Linked DNA regions of Homo sapiens: region 1 is linked to region 2. Evidence: promoter capture Hi-C in human tissues and cell types (Jung and others, 2019). All regions are on one chromosome and are shown on one strand. Each heading gives the region's core, a stretch centred on a gene start or on the middle of the fragment in contact. The rest is flanking DNA. Distances are from core to core; before and after follow the strand shown.

Evidence for each region. The method cuts DNA at HindIII sites, captures the fragments that hold promoters and counts their contacts. A contact is called where the count stands out against the background at its distance.
Region 1: a contact is called between a fragment that was not itself captured here and the fragment with the promoter of MARK1 in region 2, in 1 of the 25 tissues and cell types used here (aorta).

What each region holds. Positions count from the first base shown.
Region 1 is chr1:220,472,849-220,480,069 of GRCh38, forward strand. No RefSeq gene overlaps it. Among named protein-coding and RNA genes, the nearest start is that of LINC02779, 11 kb to the right of the region's middle. The HindIII fragment of the contact is 5,947 bases long and covers 1,376-7,221 here.
Region 2 is chr1:220,525,062-220,532,015 of GRCh38, forward strand. It overlaps MARK1 (microtubule affinity regulating kinase 1), which reads left to right and starts at 3,075. Exons shown (of 18, transcript NM_018650.5): 1 at 3,075-3,812. The coding sequence starts at 3,762. RefSeq lists a silencer at 3,139-3,438. The HindIII fragment of the contact is 13,581 bases long and covers 1-6,954 here.

The sequences.
Region 1 (7,221 bases), core at 3,099-5,598, 51 kb before region 2:
TTTCACTTAACATAACCTCCAGTTCCATCCATGTTGCTGCAAATGACATAATTTCATTATTTTTTATGACTGAATTGTATCCATTGTGTATATATACCATATTTTCTGAATCCATTTATATATCGATGGAGCTATTACTATTTTCAGATAACATGAAGACCTAGGTGAATCAACTGCAAAACTATTACAAACAATAAAATAATTCAACAAGAAGGAAGGGCACAAAATTAACATAAAGAAACCAATACATATCAGATACAGAAATCACAATCACCTAGAAGCTATAATGGAAGAAAATCCCCCAATATTACAATATTTTAAAAAAGTAATTAACAATAAATGATAATATTTATATGATGGAAAGCTTAAAACATTTTAATTTGAGTCCCAGAAGGGCAGGAAAGTGAGAATGAGGAATAAACAACATTTGAAGAGATAATGGCTGAGAATACAGTCACGTACCACATAAAAATGTTTCAGTAAACAACAGACCGCAAATACAAAGGTGGTCCAAAAAGATTATAATACCATATTCTTACTGTACTTTTCTATATTTAGATACACAAATACTTACCATTTCGTTACAGTTGCCTACAGTATTCAGTGCAGTAAGATGCCGCACAGGTTTGTAGCCAGCAACAATAGACTCTACCACATAGCCTAGGTGTGTAGTAGGTTATACTATCTAGTTTTGTGTAAGTATGCTCTATGCTGTTCACACAATGACAATGTTTTCTAAGGTCATGTTTCTCAGAATGTATCCCCATCATTCATTGTTACAAGAATGTATTCCAAAACTGATGAAAGGCATCAATCCACAGATTTGAGAAGCACTATGAATCCAAAGCAGAATAAATAGTTACACCTGAGACACGGTGTAAACCAATCAATGTGAAATCTGGGTTTATTGGGAATGGTGAGTCCCTATGTAACCTTGTGGCATTGGAGGAAGAGAAGTTGGTACCTTTTGATTATCCTTGTAACTCCCCTCTCAGACTTCTCTGGTCCCAGGTGATAGATTTCTGGTCTGGTCGGGTCTGTGAGTCTCTTTACACTACTGTCCACTGAGGTGTGGCTAGCAAACTTCTGGTTTGTTCTTTCAGCTGGGTTAAAACCCTGTGGTTCTCATTGTGATCTCAGCCTACCTTGGGTCTCACTGATCCTGTAAGTTCTAATTCTCCATCATGGTCCTCACTAAAAAACCTATCCTGTGGCTTCTGTGGTACAGTCATTATCCTCTGGCTACAGAAGCCTTTGTAAATCTTCTTGCTCTCACTTCAGTTGTCTTTAATCTAGTGGTTAAAGGTATAGACTTCATAACTAGATTGACTTTGTGTTAAAATCCTCATTTCATATTACAGCAGTGTGGTCTTGGACAAGATAGTTAACCTCTCTGTACCTCAGTCTCCACAATTTAAAAAGTGCAAAAAGGACCTATGTCATAGGGCTGTTGAAAAGATGCAGTAAGACCATTTTTGTAAAGTACTTAGACTTCTTCCTGGCACATAGCACTCAATAAATGTTAATTATTATTGTTTATTGAGGTTCATGAAGGCCCAATAAATAGCACTCCATTTCCTCACCTGAGTACTCGTGTAATTAAGAAATATATAGAGAGTAAAGTAGATGGAGATCAAAATTCACCTTTTTTTTACACTGATAATGCATTATTGTAGAATGTGATTTATATCTCTGGGCAAGTGTCTTCTTTACACCAAACCCCAGAAGTAGGTGGACTTACCCAATCACAGGTGACAATGAACTGGGGCAAATCTGTCCCTGTGAAATTTACAGTAAGGCAACCTGAGCAGATGCTTCTGTGATCAGATTTCTTCTTTCTCTCATCTGTTCCAGCGATAATTGCCTATACAGCTAATAATTTGGCAATTGATCATGTCCAGCCTAATACCACCACATTAGAGGTGATCAGATGCTGTCAGAGGTCTGCTTATATCCCATTAGCACATTTGGCCATTTCCAGGCACAGTGATCACACTGATGTTGTGTCCGGAATTGGTGGGTTCTTGGTCTCACTGACTTCCAGAATGAAGCCGAGAACCCTCGTGGTGAGTGGTACAGCTCACAGCACGCCTAAGGTGGCACGTCTGTAGTTTGTCCCTTCTGATGTTCAGATGTGTTCGGAGTTTCTTTGTTTTGGTTGATTCGTGGTCTCACTGGCTCAGGAATGAAGCTGCAAACCTTCCCAGTGTGTGTTACAGCTCGTAAGGCGGCGTGTCTGTAGTTGTTCATTCCTCCCAATAGGCTCGTGGGATCGCTGGTTCAGGAGTGAAGCTACAGACCTTCGCGGTGTTACACCTCATGCAAGCAGCGTGGCCCCAAAAAATGAACAATAGCAACATTTATTGCAAAGAGCAAAAACACAAAGCTTCCACACAGTAGAAAGGAAACCAGAGGGTTGCCTCTGCTCGCTGGGGCAGCCTGCTTTTATTCTCTTATCTGGCCCCACCCACATCCTGCTGATTGGTAGAGCCCAGTGGCCTGTTTTGACAGGGCGCTGATTGGTGCGTTTACAATCCCTGAGCTAGACATAAAGGTTCTCCAAGACCTCACCAGAGTAGCTAGATACAGAGTGTCGATTGGTGCATTCAGAAACCCTGAGCTAGACACAGGGTGCTGATTGGTGTGTTTACAAACCTTGAGCTAGATACAGAGTGCCGATTGGTGTATTTACAATCCCTGAGCTATACATAAAGACTCTCCACATCCCCACCAGACTCAGGAGCCCAGCTGGCTTCACCCAGTGGATCCAGCACGGGGGCTGCAGGTGGAGCTGCCTGCCAGTCCCGGTGCTGTGCGCTCGCACTCCTCAGCCGTTGGGGGGTCGATGGGACTGGGCGCCGTGGAGCAGGGGGCGGCACTCGTCGGGGAGGCTCGGGCGGCACAGGAGCCCACGGAGAGGGTGGGAGGCTCAGGCATGGCGGGCTGCAGGTCCCGAGCCCTGCCCCGTGGGAAGGCAGCTAAGGCCTGGCGAGAAATCGAGCACAGCGGCGGTGGGCCGGCACTGCTGGGGGACCCAGTACACCCCCCGCAGCCGCTGGCCCGGGTGCTAAGCCCCTCACTGCCCGGGGCCGGCAGGGCCGGCCGGCTGCTCCGAGTGCGGGGCCGGCCGGCTGCTCCGAGTGCAGGGCCCGCCAAGCCCACGCCCACCCAGAACTCCAGCTGGCCCGCAAGCTCCGCACGCAGCCCCGGTTCCTGCTCGCGCCTCTCCCTCCACACCTCCCCGCAAGCTGAGGGAGTGAGCTCCGGCCTTGGCCAGCCCAGAAAGGGGCTCCCACAATGCAGCGGTGGGCTGAAGGGCTCTTCAAGTGCCGCCAAAGTGGGAGCTCAGGCAGAGGAGGCGCCAAGAGCAAGTGAGGGCTGTGAGGACTGCCAGCACGCTGTCACCTCTCAGTGTGAGCTTCCACTCCTTAGAGCAAGCACCCACATCTCTCTGTTGTAAGGCTACTTTTAAGCAGTGATGACCCACTTTTCCTGCTAGTGCAGACAGCAGGAAGTGCCTGGAAATTTATTTAATATAAGTGGCCATCACTCTCCCGACCCAGGGTGCCTCATCTTAAGGGCTGATGGACAGGAGGAATAATTACCCCAGCTCCCTGGCCCCGGACCAGAACATGGTCTCCAAAGACTGAAAGACTGAGCGGAAGTTACCCTTTATGGGATTTCCCTTCCTGGTCCTACTTTCCTACTCCCCAAATCACTTTCACACAAATCCTCATCTGGGGATCCCAGCTTAAGTCGGGAAACAAATCTATTATTGTCTAGTGGCATTTATATATATTTTTTACTTTCAATTGTTTTCCTGTGTTGACTCGTTGTAAAGGTTTCTTTGGGGGATATGAGCAGACCTCCAACAGAGTGTAGTACTTGTGTTTCTTCATACTCTCCATCGTATAGTTGTACAAACAGTAGGAACTAGGCTTTTTAAAAAAAAAATGATTTCTCAATTCATTTTCTTTTTAAATTGACATCAGAGAAACTCAAACTATGTGAATAAACAAGGCGTTTGGGGAATATGCATACATATCATGCAAAGGGTGCTATACACAGCCATAGAATTTTAAGGTTATTTTCTGAATACAAAAATATGTTACATAAATTTATAAAGATCGCAGAGAATATTTAGGTTGATATGAATATTGTATAAAATTATTATTTGGGATTGAATAGCTTTATACATGCTCTTAGAGACATTTTAATGTTGAAGTTGCTTTTAAGAATTATTAACTAGTGAATAATTAAAATGTTGTCAGAATGGATTCAAGGCCAATTAGTTTGGTTGCAGATAAAAAGTCCTAAGAAATCCATGACTGCCATCAGTGGCAATTAATATAGTTTTATTTGCATGCTAAAACAATCCAGGGTAGGTCCCAAAATGTACATTTTCTGCAATACAGTAATTTAGCTTTCATGCCCAGACTGGAAGTGTGATACTTAGAATAAATGAATCCAATAATGGAGGTGCAGGAAAATAATAGCATAGTGATAATATTTGACATTTGTATATGCTTTATTACTTTTCAGATGAATTTTGCAGCTCTTTTACCCTGATAGCTAGACCAAAAACCTATTTATAAGTTTGTACAGGCTACAGTTTTCTTCGCTTTGAATACCGACTAATGAATTTCAAACCACCAATCTGACCCTTTTATATCAAATTAACTGGTTATTTGGTCAAACCAATTCACTTGACCTGCTATCCTGGTGACAAGTAGATATTTCCTGAATCAGTGTCCATCAGTCTGTGCCTTGCTTCAGCCATGCCCAGCCCCTGTGTCTCTGACAGCCAGGTCCAGAAGATGTATGTGTGCTGGTACAAGTCTCATCCTACTTGTTCTATGAAGCACTGAGGGCAGGGCCTGAAACTGTGTTGGGGAATTCTCTAGAACCTGTGATTAGGTTTCCATCTTTCTCAATGCCTACTCTTTGTGTCCTTTTGCTTCTAGATCTGCTATACTCCTACTTCTCTGGATGATAATCCCAGCTTGAGTCCTTCCATGCTCCTCTCAGTTCCATTCACCAGTGATAGTGATGAACTCCATTCATGCCTTATAGCGGGAGCACACCATTCTGCATAATATTCAGCTATTTTCTAGGGTTAAATTTACCCCCTGAAAATATATTTGATTGAATACATATAGAGAATTTTCCTACTGATAATATTATTATTAGTGGTAATAATCATAATTTTCATTATTACTCTCAGGCTCAGTCCTTGTACTTAAAAAAAAAAAAAGATAGCCAAATAGTATACAGTGGGACATTTAATAAAACCTGGAGTTGTCTTTTGATTATTAAATTAATCCAAAGCTCGCAAGGGATTTTTAAGTTTCTTTAGCCACCAAGCAAGTTGTGAGTAAATATATAGCAAAAAAAATGGAAATGAATCTAGAAAGTTTTATATTATTTTGGCCAGGTGTGGTGGCTCACACCTGTAATCCCAGCACTTTGGGAGGCTGAGGCAGGTGGACCACGAGGTCAGGAGTTTGAGACCAGCCCGGCCAACATGGCGAAACCCCATCTCTACTAAAAATACAAAAAATTAGCCAGGTGTGGTGGCGGGCACCTGTAGTCCCAGCTACTCAGGAGGCTGAGGCGGGAGAATTGCTTGAACCCAGGAGGCAGAGGTTGCAGTGAGCCAAGATCACACCATTGCACTCCAGCCTGGGTGACAGGGCGAGAGACTCGGTCTCAAAAAAAAAAAAAAAAGAAAGAAAGAAAGAAAAAAGAAAGTTTTATATATATTTTAAAACCAGGCTTTCTCTTAGGAAATTGAAGATGCTAGTTGAGGATACTTTATAGACATCGCAGGCCTCCAAATATTTTGAACTGAAATACATTGATGCCCAAGGAAACATATTCATTTTGCTGAAATTAATAGGTTGTTTTAATTTTTAATTTATACGATAGCATGTACATAACCTTTTATTGTCTACTCAATTTTACTGCTGGACATTTACTCAATTAATGAATCTTTCAATAAGATACTGACTATCATAAACTCTTGGAAAGACTGTGGTGAGCTGAGGGAATAAAAATTTGTTTTCCTTTTTTCTGTGGAAGTAGTGGGGCTGCCAACTCTTCTTCCTGGCATATTTTAATCTTTTTTTTAATTTTTAATTTTAATGGGTACATAGTAGGTATCTATATTTATGGGGTGCCTGGGATATTTTGATACAGACCTACAATGTGTAATAATCACACCAAGAAATTTTCTCCTTTTTTTTTGGCAGGGGCGCTTCAAGGTCATTATTTGGAACTCAGGCTGTGACATTGAAAAAAGATAAATGGGGTTTCCATCACCTCAAGAATTCATCATTTCTTTGTGTTGCAAACATTCCAATTGTACTCCCTTGGTTATTCTAAAATGTCCAACAAATTATTGCTGGCTGTGGTCACTCTGTTGTGCTATCAAATACTAGATCTTACTCATTGTATCGAATTCTATTTTTGTACCCGTTAACTACCCCCATTTCCCATTTCCCCTCTCCACTACCCTTCCCAGCCTCTGGTAGCCATCATTCTACTATCTCCATGAGTTCCAGTGTTTTAATTTTCAGCTCCCACAAATGAGTGAGAACATGCAAAGTTTGTCTTTCTGTGCCTGATCTTTTTTTGGAGCTACAAGAAAGCATGTTGGCCAACTAGGTGTCTACACAGATTTCCATCTGGAAAGGGAAGCTCTTTCTCAGAGGCAAGTGAAGGTTTTGTTTCAGGCCAAAAGCTCAAGGTGAAGGTGCTCAGGAAATTTTTCTTCTTCTTCTTCTTTTTTTTTTTTTTTTTTTTTGGCAGGGGCACATCAAGGTCATTATTTGGGACTCAGGCTGTGACATTTAAAAAATATATATATTCCTTCAACAGCAATCTATTTCCTTCTTTGCCCAGAGGACACCTGTGCTGTTGCCCAAGTACATGTGAAAAGAACCAGTCAGCCTCACAATTTATACCTTGCCCCATTTGTAACAACTAGGAAGTCTCATCGGATTCATCTTTTGGTTTGTGTTCCATTTTAACAAATCACTCAGAAGGCTGCCAGAGATAATAACCTCTCATGAGGAAACAAATATTTCATCTCAGTGCTTTCTTCTCAAGCTGCAACTGGATCGTTGCAATTTGGTGTAATGTCGTTTCTTAACCTAGCCTCTGAAATTTACCCCATATATGAACAGAAAAGGATTCTTAACAGTTATTTTCATGTTGGCA
Region 2 (6,954 bases), core at 1,825-4,324:
GAAAATTTACAGTTGAAAAAGTAGATTCATATACTTAACATACTTTCAAACATAACACAATTTTTTCAGTCACTGAATCAAATCGGTTTTTAAGTGTAAATTATTTGAAATTGAGTCAAATTAAAAATTCAAGCAACATGTCAAGAGCTCAGTAGTCACATGTAACTGGTACTGGACCCGGTAGTTCTAAAAAATTCTACTCCATAGGGCTGACGGTAGGCAATGCTCTTTTCCCACTTTTCACTGTAGGTTTAGCACCTTTTAGATCTTTATTTCCCTTTTGTTTTGTCAGTACTTCAATTTTCTTCCAAAACTTTCATTACCCTAACACATTAAGTTAGGAACCTGTGAATTGAACATGCCACATTTGGTTAATAACCCAAAAAAAAATTACTCAAAGCCTTAAAATATTCCCTTTGTCATTTCTCCATAGTCACAGACACAGAAGCTATATATAGTAACACAAAAAAATTTTGCTCATGAGCATTTTCATTTCTAAGGACTAGGGTTAAACAGTATTGACTCCATCACAATAATGCCTCATGTCATTTTTTTTTCCTCTCCCATGTTTAAGGATCTACTAATGCCATTTTAAGGGGAGAAGAGCTCATATAGGGACAGACAGTATTTCCTTTTGAAAAACATAGTGACTTTTTTTTTAACCTGGGCAAAGTGCATTTTCACTTAGTTTTCACTACATACCAAGCTTAAAATTGTTAGGTATTAATAAGGATTATTTGAATGGCATTTTCTTTTGGATAGAATTGTTCTATCCAAAAAAACAATTTGGCTAGCTAGAATTATGGATTCGAGCTACCTAGTAATGACTCTCTTTGAATGTAGTTTCACTGTTAGAAGTGTTCTTGGGGATTGACTTAAACAATAAATATCCCTTCCTATTATTATGTGATATTCCGTAAATTTCAATATGTGAAATAGTGAGCATTGTGTAGCAAATATAGCTAAGGGATTTGTCCATGGCTTTTAACAGACACTTTAAAATCTGTGGAAGCCACTGTGCCAGAATCTGGGGCTCTCCTTTAAGCTCTGTCTCGAATTAGCCATTATATCTTATGGGGTGAACCTATGGTTTTTGTGACTGGTGCAAGATTGAACAGCACCACATATTTCAGTTATCTTCTTCTGTATCTTATTAACCTGGTGCATCTGTGATCTTGAACAAGTTAACTTAGTGGAATTTTGTAAAATGGAAATAAATATGCCTGTCAGGGTCACCACGATTATAAAGATAGAAAAATATGTGAGTATACTTTAAAGAGCAAAATACATACTACCAGCTGAAGGAATGATTCATATTCCAATGGGGCTGAACGCCTTTTCACAGCTACTTGTTTATTGCTAGGTTAACTCAGGTACTATTGCAACACTAGGTACCCTTGTGTGGCTGCAGCAGTCAGTGATGCCGCTGACACTGTGATGGCAGCCCCTACAGGCAGCCGTCGCAATAGTTAACCAGAAAATAACCAGAAAAATACAGGATTATGCCCTTGCAACTTCAATGTATCTTGGTGATTCAGGATTTTCTGCAGAGGGCACGTAAATGCTTGACATTCTCAGTAACACATCATAGTTCAGGAGGCAGCATTGCAGTTCCGCTGCCTAAATTCTGTTTGAGAAGTGGTGATGACCACCAAAGGGATCTTGTTTTTTTTTTTTTTTTCATTTGCTTTGTGAAATTGGTAAGTGGTTACAAGAGAAAATGCTAAAGAAATAAGTACACAGATGGTGTTCTAGAAGTGAATATAGACTGGGTGAGAATTGCTTCTTTCCTCAAAGGATTTTTGTGTTTGCTATTTTCAGGTCTTTTGGACCCATGCTTCAAGGGTCAAGTGTTAACTTTTCAGAAACAACCTTTAATGAGTCAGGATAAAAACCATCTGGTTCAGGGATTCTTCTTTCAAATGGAGGAAATTCAGAAGAGACGAGAAATTTCCCACCATTATAAGAATTCCACTGGAGGCATACTGAAGCAGCTCAGAAAATCAATGTATCCGCTCCTATCTTTCATTCCTTTTGTCTTCCTGCCCATCCATGAAAGGAAGTGAAAAAGAAATGTTGCAAAGAAGAATAGAGAGACGATAAGGTTTTCGTTCTACAGGCTGAATGTGCAAAATGTAAGCTCTCAAATGAGATTAAAAAAAAATGCAGCCTTGCTTATAAAAGGCGAATGGGTCCTGGACAATGCACTACAGACGCGGGTGCCTACAGGATGTCTTGAGGCAGGTGGGTGGAAGTGTGAGGAAGCCACCTGGAAGAGGGAGGACAGGGCCCAAATCAGACACAGCTCTCCATCCTCCCTAAACAGGCTCGCCTAAGTGACACTTCCTTGTGTCCCAGGAAGTGACGATCAGCCAGTGTAGATGTTGTGACTCGCGGGTCTCACCCACTCCGAGGGTGCTGCAGGGCGCCCAGAGCGAGACGTCTTCCGCCGGCCCCATTCCCGAAGAGGCCGCGCCGTCGGGGGCTGAGACCCACTTGTACTGAGTCTCCAGCCGCCTCCCTAGGCTGCTGGCGCTTCTAGGGGCTTCTGTGCTTTTTGCCAAACTCTGAGGGTGACCCTGAACCTAACGGCTCCCTAGAGAAGGAGACTGACAGAGGGCTCAGGCGAGGATAGGGATTGAGAAAGCGTGGAAACGGGGGAGGAGGAGTAGAATTTAAGAATGGTAAAAGTCCCGAGGTAGGAGAAAAGGAGGGGTAGGATCCAGGGTAGGATTGAATCCAATTCTTCTCCAATGAAACGGACAAACAAACAAACAAACAAACAAAAACAGAAAGAAAGAAAAAGAAAAAAAAAAGCCACTGATTCACATCAGCTCTCTCTCACCCTCAACCCGGCAAAAACCAAACACGAATAAAAATAAAACCACCAGAGGCTCTTAGACGACCGTAAACTCTGCGGGTGGGGCACGAAACAAAAATAAACACAGGGACAGGCGGGCAAGAGAGCGCGGGAGGAGGAGGAGGAGAAAAAGGAGGAGGAGGAGGAGGAGGAGGCGGCCCCGCATCCCTAATGAGGGAATGAATGGAGAGGCCCCCTCGGCTGGCGCCCGCCCACCCGGCGGCGGCCGCCAAGTGCCTCTGGGCGCTGCGTGCCGCGCCCGCTGCTCCGCGCGCAGCCGGCTCGGGCCGCTCCTCCTGACTGAGGCGCGGCGGCGGCGGTGGCTGTGACCGCGCGGACCGAGCCGAGACATTCGCGCCGGGGGATCGGGCGCCGCCGCCGCTGGGCCCCGGGCGCGTGGATGCGGCTGGGTCGGGCGGCGCCGTACACCTGAGGCGGAGAACGGGGCGCGGCGCGGGTGACGCTGTCAGGGCCGCGGTTCCTGACGCCCAGGCGCTCGCCAGGACGAGCCAGGCAGTGATTTGAGGCACCGGCTTCACCTTCACCCATGGTCCGGAGAGCCTAGCGGGGCTCGCCACCGCCTCCCGGCTCCCCTTCCACGCCTCATCCTGCCAGCCTCGCCGCCCCGCCAGCGCCGGGCAACCGCCTCGCCCGAAGCCCTCCCTCGTTACTGTCCGCATACCCCGGCGGCGCCGCCGCGGGAAGCGGCTCCCCCTCCTCTTCCTCCGCGTCCTCTTCCCTCTTTCCCCCGCCGGGGCCGCTTGTTGCACCGCCCCGCGGCCTGCGGGAGCCGCTCGCCCCGGCCTTGTGCTCGCGTCCGCACCCCTTTCCTGTCGCCCCCCGGGGCCCGCACCACAGCCCGGCCGGCGAGACCCCGGCCAGACCCCGCTGCCCGCACAAAATGTCGGCCCGGACGCCATTGCCGACGGTGAACGAGCGGGACACGGAAAATGTGAGTAACCGGAGCCTCCCTCGGGAGCAGTGGGGGCGAGACCCTCCTCTGATCCCCACTTCACCCGCGCTTGGGCCGTCCCCCGTGCCTCGGCGCGGCCACCCGCGGCAGGGTCTCCACCTGGAGCCCGGCGTGACCCTCACCCACTGCTCAGCCCTATTCTTCATTCCAACCCCATTTCGCTTGTTTCCCCTCAAGGGTGAGGGTAGGGAACCGTAAGTGGCGCCCTCTCGCTCGGAGGTGGTCCTCCAGGGGCGGATGGGGTGATGGAGGGCAGAGAAGCAGAATGGGATGGCAGAGTGGGCAGTCAGGATTGCTTTATTTCTACCTCTGCATTCTGTGCCCCCACCCGAATGAATGCTTGCTTTACAATAGCAGACGAGCCGGCTACCTCTCACACTCTTGCTTTTCTGGATCTTTCAATCCTTTGCACTCTCCCCTCCTCCCCCCGCATTGCCCCATGACTTTGCTTTTTGTAACATTGTGTCCACATTTTGGGTCATGGGCACCAAAGCGAGAAGGATGGGAATGGAAGTGGAGATGTGTGCGTGTTTGTGTATGAGTTTATACTGCTGTGACACTCTTAGTAGGGATGAGTAGAAGAATTTCACGAACAGCATCTATGGCCCTGGGGTTACAGCAAAATGTTGAAAAGCCACATGAAGCCAAGGGCTTTTTAATCTCTTCCTTAAGTCAGTGATAATGATGCAGGGCAGGTTTTACTTTAAATATCTCTCCTCCTTGGAGTGTCACAAGGTGCACATCTTTAAAGGAGGGATTTTCTGTGTCTTTGATCAGATTGCCCTCTGGAGCTGTTATCAAGATGCAGATGTGCCGGGCTTTTAAACTCTTGAAAAACGAAAAGAACAAGATCCCTTGTATTTCCACCTTCTGAAAAGTACAGTTGTGTGTGTGTGTGCAAGTTCCTTTGTGGGAAGGTTTTCTTGTTTTTGTTTTTGTTTAAAACACTCAAGACCTGTAAATAGGGCTTGGCTGATTTTCCGACTGATTTTAAGGACCTAGAGGGGTACTAAGTTTTGGTCAGCTGTCCAGAGCTCTCTGTCTAGTTATCTCATCAGCCGTCCAGCTTTTGATATACCACTGACTTCATGGGGTTGGTAAAATAAAATAACGAAGCGCTTTGGTGTTCTTAGACAAAAGGCATGAGAGAAAGGATACAAGCTCACTTCTGAGTTGTTGGAGGGGTATAAACAGATGATTTCATCTTAGGAGGGAAGCACAGAAATTTAATATAACTATACAAAGAGAGAAGAAATTCTACTAAGAGACCATTGTTAGAGGACCTGTGAAGATGTTTCAGAGTATGCTTTTGTCTTCCCTAGCGCCGTGCATTTAAATGGGAAAGATAGTGTAAGGCTGCTGCTATCATAAATTAGAACTTCATTTGCATCATAACTATTTTAGAAAATATAATTGATACATAATTTTGATTGAGAGATTGAACAAGTTCAGAGAAAAAGATGGATATTTTGGTTTGAGTTGGTTTTAAAGCCGAGTTGGCACAGAATTTTTCTAACAGGAACATTAAAAAAATGCCTGTCATTCAAGAGTGTGAATGAAAAGTATGACAGATGATAACCTTTGTTTTTATTAGCAAATTACTGTATGTGTTAACCCAGGAGGAGTGGAAAAATACATTGTTTTTATTTTCTTTTAGATTTTGAATAGTATAGCTTTTCTCATACTTGTATGAATAAGGTACTTCATAAAGACATGAGATATAATTATAGAAATATGCATTAAGGAATAGCACAAAATGCAGCTTCTCATGTAAGAACACACAAAAAAGGATTTTAAAGCTAAGCAATAATAGTATGATAAATTTTGTTGTGAGTACCTTCTGAAAATGATTATGCTGTATAAACTGATTTGCTGTTTCTGAACATGTTATTTCAAAGTCACTTTTATGGTCTTGTGCCTTATTGTGTTGTACATAATGATATCTCCATTTAGCTTACTTTACCCACACCTTATTTTCTCCTAATTGCTGTGGAAAATATCTATTATATGACACCTGTCAATTAATAAGTATGCACTCAGCATGTTCATTTTTTAGGTAAAGGGTTGGGAAGGGGATATAGAAGTAGTGTTTAAGATAAAGTCTCTCCCTGCAAGGAGCTTACAGAAGAGATAATAATCCCAAACAAGTAATGTATGGTAGAAGACATTGTGTAAATAGGGCTAAATTGGTTTATAGGTGTTATAGGTGTTTATCAAAGAGGCCACCACTGATGGCTACGAAATCACCATTGGTGACTCTCTTTATTCTCTAGTTGGTAGTAAATGGCATCATCCATTTTTACTTCTCATCGATGAAATAAAGTAACAAGCCTGCTTGTTAGCTAATATATTAATGCCAGTATGGCAGCCAAAATGTATTTTTGTTTATAGTCATTTTCAATTACATGACATATTTTTAAAAATAGTTACAAAACTTTTATATTCATATGACTATTAAAGGGTTCTAAGTCCTTTGGTATATCAAGGACACTAACTAAAAACATTTTATTTTCCTTAGAAATTAAAATCAACAAATACAGTAATTTAAAACACCATCTTGATATTTCGTTGTCGTTTGCAGTTAATATAAACATTTCTTTGGTCATCCATATAACGTATTTGGATTTTGTGTCCTTGGGAATATATAATATCTACCCTTCTCAGTGTCACTAATATATATTCAGGATAAATAAAAATCCCAAAAGAGGAATATTATAGCACTGATCTCTTATATACTACTGCTATATATAGTAGAATGAGAAAGAATTGCTTTTCTCTAAGAACAGTCTATGTGTACTTTTTCAGGAGTATTTTCTTTGATGAAAGATTTGTGTGTGCCTTGTTAATAGGCCTCAACGGGCTAAATACAACAGGACAACCAATGATTAACTTTTAAGGCAATAAACACTTTGTAGTAAAGTAAAAAAAATGTGTTGCAGATAATAGAATCTATGCAAAATGTGTTTGATTTTAGATTATAAACAGTAAGTCCAGAAAAAGAGTAAAAAAGATTTCTCTTTTTTTCTTTTGTTAGATTTTATTTGGATAATTCCACCATGGATATAGATAATATATTATCATTACTCTTACATGTTTTTTAATGAAACAAGAAAAAAAATTT